Linked DNA regions of Homo sapiens: regions 2 and 3 are each linked to region 1. Evidence: promoter capture Hi-C in human tissues and cell types (Jung and others, 2019). All regions are on one chromosome and are shown on one strand. Each heading gives the region's core, a stretch centred on a gene start or on the middle of the fragment in contact. The rest is flanking DNA. Distances are from core to core; before and after follow the strand shown.

Region 1 (2,880 bases), core at 30-2,529:
TTTTAAAAGGCCTACATTTTTCTAATACTTGGACACAACTGATCAAACCGAGGCGAAGTGTGTACCATTGTAAAAGAAATCATTGAAGAGTTCCATTTGTTGTTAAAAGTTTCGGTCACTTTTAATAAACCTGGAGTAAACAAAAACTTAAACATTTTAGTCGAGTTCTGGGGTAAAAATGATTCTTCTAGTGTCTGGTTAAAGGGATCTAAGGACCTACTGGGATTCAGCAAAAGACGTTCCACGTCTCAAATACACCCAAAATCTCAATACAACACTAAAAGAAAAGTGAGGGGCCAGCACGAAATTTCTGTTAGGGGAAATTTCAGCTGCGTAGTTAAGGAAATCAGGACTTCCCGGTTAACTATGGGGTCTTTGCCGCAGCTCACAGCCCGACACAAAGCTACAAGCCCGGAGGGTCGGTGGCTCACGCGTGGATCGAAAGAACCACGAAGGTTTGGGGAATGACACTGACCTGTTAGGTTTACTTCATGTCTCACTTACCACCATCAAAAGAGGTTCATTGATAGCTTTATTAGCAAAATTAGTAACAGAGTTGCACGTCTGTAACACACACACACGCGCGCGTGCGCACACACACACATACACCCGTGGGTCTATGGGAACATTGAGGGAGACAATCTCCAGGTTAAAACCACACAAAAACTATTTGGGAAACACAAAGACGCAAGACACAAAACAAATTTGGAGTGCAAATGTGCAAGACACACTCAGTGGGAACACAAAAGAGAAAAGCACAGCGGCTTGACAATTGGGACGGCGCCCGGCCCCACGTGGGGCCCCAGGTGGCCCCACCGCCGCCCGCACCCGGCCAGTCTCTGCAGCCCGCACGCGTCCCCCGCGGGGCGCGCGGCTCTTCACGGCGACAAACCGAATCCCGAACTTCGCCGCAGGGACCCCACGGCCGACAAGGAGGAGCCCGGCGCCGCCACCCACCCGCGGGGCCACCGACCCGGAGGCCCGCGCCTCGTCCCGGGGCCCCCGGCACGCCCGGGACCTCTGAGGGGGCGCGTCCGCCGACCCGGCCATCCCTGCGGCGCCGGGTCCCCAGCGTGTCGCCGCCGCCGTCGCCGCCGCGCTCCTCGGGGGGAGGGACCAGCGTCCCGGCGCGAGCCCAGAGGCCGCCCACCCGCGCCACTCCTTACCCGCGCCCGCCGCGCCAGCGCCTCAGAGCACCGAGGGCCGCCGCCGCCGCCGCTGTTTCGCCGGCCCCGGCGCCCGCGGCCGCGCCGCCGCCATCTTGACTCCAGTCGGAAGTGACGTCGGGCGGCGAGGCAGTGGCCTGCGGGGCTGGGGGGCTCCGGGACCCCCGGTCTCCCCACGATCCCAGAGCCCGGCCCTTGACCCTGCGCCGTCGCCCAATGGCCACCACCCAGCCGCCCCTCGTAGGTCACCGCGGATCCCATGGCGGCGCCTCGGGAAGGAACCCCGGCGGCTGGCGTCGCGGCAAGTCCGACCGCACCCTAGGGCTAGGATCCTGCGTGGTTCAAAGATTCTCAAAGAATCAAAAAGACTGAAGGAGGTGTTGGGGGGGCATGTCTATCGTTGGAGGTCATTAAATATCTGACAAGTACATAAACGTAGACCTTATACTTCTACGTTTGGATCTATACCAAAAAGATCCAACTCCAGGCAGACAGACGCAGCTGCTGGGTTTATTTGCTGCCCTAGTACCCAGGAGCAGTGACCAACGCTGCCCTGTGCCCGCGATGTTCCAGTGCAGCGCCTCTGAGAGCGCGGTAGTAGTCCTGCCCTTAAGGAGCTTGCTGTTCCCAAGCGGGCAAACAAATGGACTGCAGAGACGACGACTCATAGATGTTCTGATGAAGATGAACTGGGTGGAACTGGAGATGGCTCTTCGACATCCAAGGGTGGAGGCCTAGCACGTGGTTGAAAATGAGTTGAGTCGGGGAGAAGCACAGGCTGGAGATGAGCTGGAAAGTTGGGAGTTGTCGTTATAGATGGTGCCTGGAGCCTTCAGCACTTCAAGATAAAGTAATCCTCTGAGAATGAAGTCAGGAAGAATCCGAATGTGATGGCTACGTTGGCCATCTGCAGAAAGCACCCAGTGGAAAAACAGGATACTAAGGGCAGGTGTGCTTCCAAAAATTATGAACGATCATTTATGTAACAGGTTTAATCTTAAGAAAACGTGTTGGCCGGGCGCAGTGGCTCACGCCTGTAATCCCAGCACTTTGGGAGGCCAAGGCAGGTGGATCACGAGGTCAGGAGATCGAGACCATCCTGGCTAACACGGTGAAACCCCGTCTCTACTAAAACTACAAAAATTTAGCCGGCCGACGTGGCGGGTGCCTGTAGTCCCAGCTACTCCGGAGGCTGAGGCAGGAGAATGGCGTGAACCCAGGAGACGGAGCTTGCAGTGAGCCAAGATCGCCCCACTGCTCGCCAGCCTGGGCGACAGAGACAGACTCCATCTCAAAAAAGAAAGAAAACGTGTTGTATCAACATATATCATGTTATCTTATTGTAAAAGAATGAGGCTAGGCCGGGCGCGGTGGCTCAGCCTGTAATCCCAGCACATTGGGAGGCCGAGGCGGGTGGATCACGAGGTCAGGAGATCGAGACCATCCTGGCTAACACAGTGAAACCCCGTCTCTACTAAAAATACAAAAAATTAGCCAGGCGTGGTGGCGGGCGCCTGTAGTCCCAGCTACTCCGGAGGCTGAGGCAGGAGAATGGCGTGAACCCGGGAGGCGGAGCTGGCAGTGAGCCAAGATGCCCCACTGCTCTCCAGCCTGGGTGACAGAGCGAGACTCAGTATCAAAAAAAAAAAAAAAAAAAAGAATGAGGCTATAGCTGATGATCGAGTCGGTTATAGTAAACAAATGAAGATCACCT
Region 2 (2,700 bases), core at 143-2,642, 1.1 Mb before region 1:
GTCTGTTAAGCACAATGTAAGCAAGCAAGGAAGTGGAGGTAGGGTGGGATGAGACTTGGAGGCAGAGAGATGGCAGCAAATGGAATCCAGCCTGCCCTCCCTTGGAAGCCAGCGGGGGCCGGTGCGGTGGCTCACACCTATAATCCCAGCACTTTCAGAGGCCAAGGCTGGAGGATCGCTTGAGCTCAGGAGTTCGAGATCAGCCTGGGCAGCATGGTGAAACCCCATCTCTATTAAAAATACAAAAGTTAGTTGGCATAGTGGTGCACGCATATCATTCCAGCTACTCGGGAGGCTGAGGTGAGAGAATCGCTTGAGCCTGGGAGGAAGAATTTGCAGTGAGCCAAGATTGCACCACTGCACTCTGCCTCAGCAACAGAACAAAAAAAGAAGTCACCGGATTCCTCCAATTCTAGGAGACCTGGTGGGAAAGGCCAAATCCCTGGCTGGCGGGACTTGGATTGGACAACTTTGTGAAAATTGCTTGAATGACTTCCCAACAAAAGAACTGCCACATACTTAAAGCTAACAAAAAGCCCCTTTGCTTTTTAGGGTGCTGTAAACATTCTGTAATTAGATAGTGGTGATGGTGGCACAACTCTGTTAATATACTAAAAATCGCTGAATTGTACACTTAAAATGGTGAATTTTATGGTATGTGGATTATTATATCTTATGGTATGTGAATTATTACATTTTCCAGTAAATGAATTATTATATTGCAAAATAAGAAAAGTGGAAAAAGCCCCTTTATTCCATGTATATCCCATCCTGGGTCAAGAAATTCAGGAATGCTGCCAGGCATGGTGGCTCACGCCTGCAATCCCAGCACTTTGGGAGGCCGAGGTGAGCGCATCACTTAAGGTCGGGAGTTCAAGACTAGCCTGACCGACATGGAGAAACCCCGTCTTTACTAAAAAAAAAAGAAAAAAACAAAATTAGCTGGACATGTGGCACATGTTTGTAATCCCAGCTACTTGGGAGGCTGAGGCAGGAGAATTGCTTGAACCTGGGAGGCGGAGGTTGCGGTGAGTCAAGATTGCGCCATTGCACTCCAGCCTGGGCAACAAGAGTGAAACTCTGTCTCAAAAAAAAAGAAAAAAGAAAAAAAAAGAAATTCAAGGAATGCCAAGATATGGTGACTCAGTTATAGGAGACCATATTCCACAAAGAAAGAAAAGAATCCTTTGACAAATGGTGGTTAGGAGATGTCATCTACTCCGTGCCTGGAGCAATTTGTAGCCAGAGCATAAGCTTTAATTCAGCAAACATATTAACTGTGTGCCAGATACTGTCTAGGCTCTAGGGATTTTTTTTTTTTTTTTTTTTTTTTTTTTTTTTTTTTTGGTAATGAGGAGCTTAGAGTCCTTGCCTTCAGAGTAAGAATGGGGACTCAGATAAGAGGACAGATGACTTGAGGACAGGACAGAACACACCATAGGCAGGAGGGAGGTGCTAAAGTTTTGTTTTAAGGAGGCCCAAAGGGGGACCAGGTCCCATCTGATCACAGGAAACAGGAAAGGAGACATGGAGAATGTAGAATCAGAGATGAACCTGGAAGGGTCCCGACTGGTGGGTGTCCCGATAGATGGAAATGCTTCCCAAGGCTGGTTCAGGTGAGAGGCACCAGAGGAGCAAAGGTTCAGCCACTGGAACATACACAGGTGTTTCCATTTGCCTGGACAGTGGGGCATGTGGGGAAGCAGAGGGAAGCAGGTCTGGAAAAGTGAGGAGGGTCTTGCACATCAGCTGACCGGAATGGATGGATTTGGTCTGTGGAAACAGACTTTATTGGACAGTGACTTAATCACATGTGTTCTTCCCTGACTCTGGGATGGCTCTAGTTTTAAGCAGTAAGGCAGACAAGGTTTGCCTTGGGAAGCCCTCCCTACAATCCCGTCTACCAGATTCCTGGCGTCCTCCTGTCCCCAAAGCCCTCAGCCTGAGTAGGCCCCCTCCTGGGAGATGCTCAGTGAATATCAAATGAGGGAATGAACGAATGCTCCCGACATGTAAGACCCTCATCCGCATATCAAAACTAACCCGTCCAGTGTCCCATCCCTTCAGGACTCTGCTAGAAAAGAGCCAGATTATCTACTCACTTGTTCTCATGAAGGCATTATGGGAAGTTAAAGGTAACCTTCCCAGGTAAAGGTAACTGCGTTTGTAAATTGATGATCTGGAGGAGATCTTAACCCATGGGATTCTGATGGTGGTGTCTCAGGGTGTCCCAGACATCAGAGGTGGCTGTCCACATGCCTCAGATCACACCACTTCCCTTCTTAGGTGACCTCCTACGTGTACAAGTGACCTCCCACGTGTACAAGTGGTGACCTCCCACATGTACAAGTATCTTAAAGGTGATGAAACTGCAGAAGAAAAGCCATCTCCAGCTTGGAAGATGAGTGTCGGTAGCAGCAGAGTCACCACGGTCAGGCCTCTGGGTCGTAAGCTTTGACGGAGGCCCTTTGGTGCCTGGTGCTTTAGGGTCTACTGGGTCTCAATGCATCTTTTATTCATGCAGACAGGTGCCTGTAGCTCATGGCTCATCACTCTAAAAGCCTGAGGTAGGAGAAAGAAAACCTTATAAGCCTTTGTGCTGCATCGATCTTCTTGGACAGAGACTATTCTTGAAGGCTGCCTCCCCATGAATTCAATTTACCCACCCCGGCTTCCCCGAAGCACCTCTTAGTATTTGTG
Region 3 (2,700 bases), core at 136-2,635, 1.2 Mb before region 1:
CACTTGAGACCAGGAGTTCGAGACCAGCCTGGGCAACAAGTGAGACCCTGTCTCTACAAACAAAATGTTTTAAAAATTAGCCAGGCATGGTGGTGTGTGCCTGTAGTCCTAGCTACTCGGGAGGCTGAGGTGGGAGGATGACTTGAGCCCAGGAGTTTGAGGCTGAAGCGAGCAATGATCCTGCCATGGCACTCCAGCCTGGGAGGCAAGAGCAAGACCCTGTGTCTAAAATGAATAAACAGGCCAGGCACGGTGGCTCACACCTGTAATCCCAGCACTTTGGGAGGCCGAGGTGGGTTGATCACCTGAGGTCAGGTGTTCAAGACCAGCCTGGCCCCATGGTGAAACCCTGTCCCTACTAAAAGTATAAAAATTAGCCTGGTGTGGTGGTGGGTGCCTGTGATCCCAGCTACTCAGGAGGCTGAGGCAGGAGAATAGCTTGAACCCAGGAGGTGGTGGTTGCAGTGAACCAAGGTCATGCCATTGCTCTCCAGCCTGGGCAACTGAGTGAGACTCCATCTCAAAAAACAAAAACAAAATCAAACAAAAAATGAATAAATAAATAAACATCATTATCTGCAATCCATTGTATTGCACACAGTATCTAAGATGGTTTATTGATAAAGCAGCAGCTCTATTTGGCAAGTTCCTACTGTAGGATGGGTGCCATCATTCTCATTTTACAAGAGGTGGAAACTGAGGCTCAAAGAGATTAAGCAGCTTGCCCGAGAGTCTCCAGTGTGGTCTTCTCATAATGCATGAGATTCTGACCAACTGTCGCCAGATATCCCCTTCTAAGTGGGAGAGCAAAGCCCGGGCAGATGCTAACTGCAAAAATTTCTCCCCAGGAAGTCCAAATCCTGCCCCAGTGCTTGACGTCCTATTGAGTATTGGACTCTGGACTTGTCTGACTTGGCCATCTCTCTGGTGAGTCTTATATCACTCCAGCACCCTTTTTTTTTTTTTTTTTGAGATGGAGTTTCCCTCTTGTTGCCCAGGCTGGAGTGCAGTGGTGCGATCTTGGTTCACTGCAACCTCTGTCTCCCGGGTTCCAGTGATCCTCCTGCCTCAGCCTCCCAAGTAGCTAGGATTACAGGTGTCCACCACCACGCCTGGCTAATTTTTGTATTTTTGGTAGAGATGCGGTTTTGCCATTTTGGCCAGGCTGGTCTCGAACTCCTGACCTCAGGTGATCCGCCTGCCTTGGCCTCCCAAAGTGTTGGGATTACAGGCGTGAGCCACCGCATCCGGCCCATTTTGAACCAATACAAATGATCTTAATCTCCACAAAACCCCTACTAGATAGGGCTAGCACCCCAATTTACAGATGAAGATATTGAGGCTCAGAGGGGTTAAGGAACTTGCTCAGGGTCCCCACTGTTGGAACAATTTGCACCCAGGCAGTGGGGCTCTATGACCCTAAGCACTTGGTACATAGACTCCAACGTCCCCACACTCAGAGCCCTGTGTCTGTGTACCTGTCCTAGCTCAGTGAGGGGAGCCTGTTCTACACAAGGAAGGCTAAAACGCCCTAAATACCACCAAGCACAGAGTAAGGCAAAGGTGCCCTGTTGCTAAATTCCTACCTTCCTGGGCCATGCATGCCTGCTCTGCTGTGAGAAGGTAGCATCGGCCTGCCTGCTGGGTATGGATTCAAGTCACCTCTAAAGGAGAGCAATCAGCGCCTTTCAGGGAGATGGCCACGCTCCAGGCACAGGCTGGAAGATCAGACTCCCACTGGGAAGACTGAGAGGAGCCAGATGCCGTCTGGAGCACCCAAAACACCAGCTGCTGTTGCTGACCTCAGCGTGCTCAGCTCTATCAGGGATGTGCCAGGAAACTGGCGAAGGGGACGTGACAGCAAGTGCTTATGCAGCCCCTTGAGGGAGCAGGCACACTGGGGTGGGAAGGAGAAGGTGTTCAGTCAACCCCACCCAGGCCCCATACTCAGGAGGCTGATAGATCCAGGGGTCCTCCTACAAGCTGACCTGGGACTTGTGTGATCAAAGAAGGATGGCAGGGAGAGAGGCGGAGGGGACGTGATTATTACGGCCAGGAGACTGTGGACAGAACCTAAGAGGTGGCAACTGATTTGCTAGTCCTTGAAGATGGAGGGGGAAGGGAAAGGCAGGAAAGTACAAACAACTCGTAAAAGAGAAAACTGAGCTCCTCTGCAGGGAACTAGAAAGGGAGCTGGCCCCAAGTAGGTGCTCTAAGAAAACCTGCAAGTAATTAACTAGCAGGGTCTATGATGAAGGCTCTCCTCTGGTCCTATAACACCTAGCAAGGGGCATAGACACAGGCTTGCTGAGGAGCCATCTTCACCTTCTGCAGCGCCACTCTCTGCCACGCTGTCCTCTGGGTGACACTTGCAGATGGCACTGCAAGAATTATGCCCAGAGGGGCTGCACACTGCAAGAATTATGCCCAGAGGGGCTGCAATGAGCAAGAAAGGCTCACAGAAAGGTTGGGGGCCCAGGATGGGGAGGGATGTGGACTTAGTTCGGGGTGGGAAGATAACAGAGGCAAGAACTAGCAAGGTGAAGGGTAGGAATGAGCCAGGGTGGTTCATGGGACAGACAGGCCCTGAGCTCCTCTCCACTGGAGACAGAAGGGGGACTGTCACGTTTATGGAGCCTCACACAAAACCGAGAACAGAGCAGGTGCTGGATGCCCGCCATGTGGATGAACAAGGAGGCT

What was found. Contacts are between HindIII fragments. The study calls those that stand out against the background at their distance.
Region 2: a fragment that was not itself captured here is called in contact with the fragment with the promoter of PRDM2 in region 1 in 1 of the 25 tissues and cell types used here (liver).
Region 3: a contact is called between a fragment that was not itself captured here and the fragment with the promoter of PRDM2 in region 1, in 1 of the 25 tissues and cell types used here (dorsolateral prefrontal cortex).

Annotation. Positions count from the first base shown.
Region 1 is chr1:13,698,587-13,701,466 of GRCh38, reverse strand. It overlaps PRDM2 (PR/SET domain 2), which reads right to left and starts at 1,279. Exons shown (of 10, transcript NM_001393986.1): 1 at 1,167-1,279. RefSeq lists a silencer at 757-1,526. The HindIII fragment of the contact is 18,174 bases long and covers 1-2,880 here.
Region 2 is chr1:14,788,407-14,791,106 of GRCh38, reverse strand. The region is part of intron 1 of KAZN (kazrin, periplakin interacting protein); the gene reads right to left. Among named protein-coding and RNA genes, the nearest start is that of KAZN, 190 kb to the right of the region's middle. The HindIII fragment of the contact is 5,713 bases long and covers 1-2,700 here.
Region 3 is chr1:14,936,813-14,939,512 of GRCh38, reverse strand. All of the region lies in intron 1 of KAZN (kazrin, periplakin interacting protein), which reads right to left. Among named protein-coding and RNA genes, the nearest start is that of TMEM51-AS1, 210 kb to the left of the region's middle. The HindIII fragment of the contact is 9,973 bases long and covers 1-2,700 here.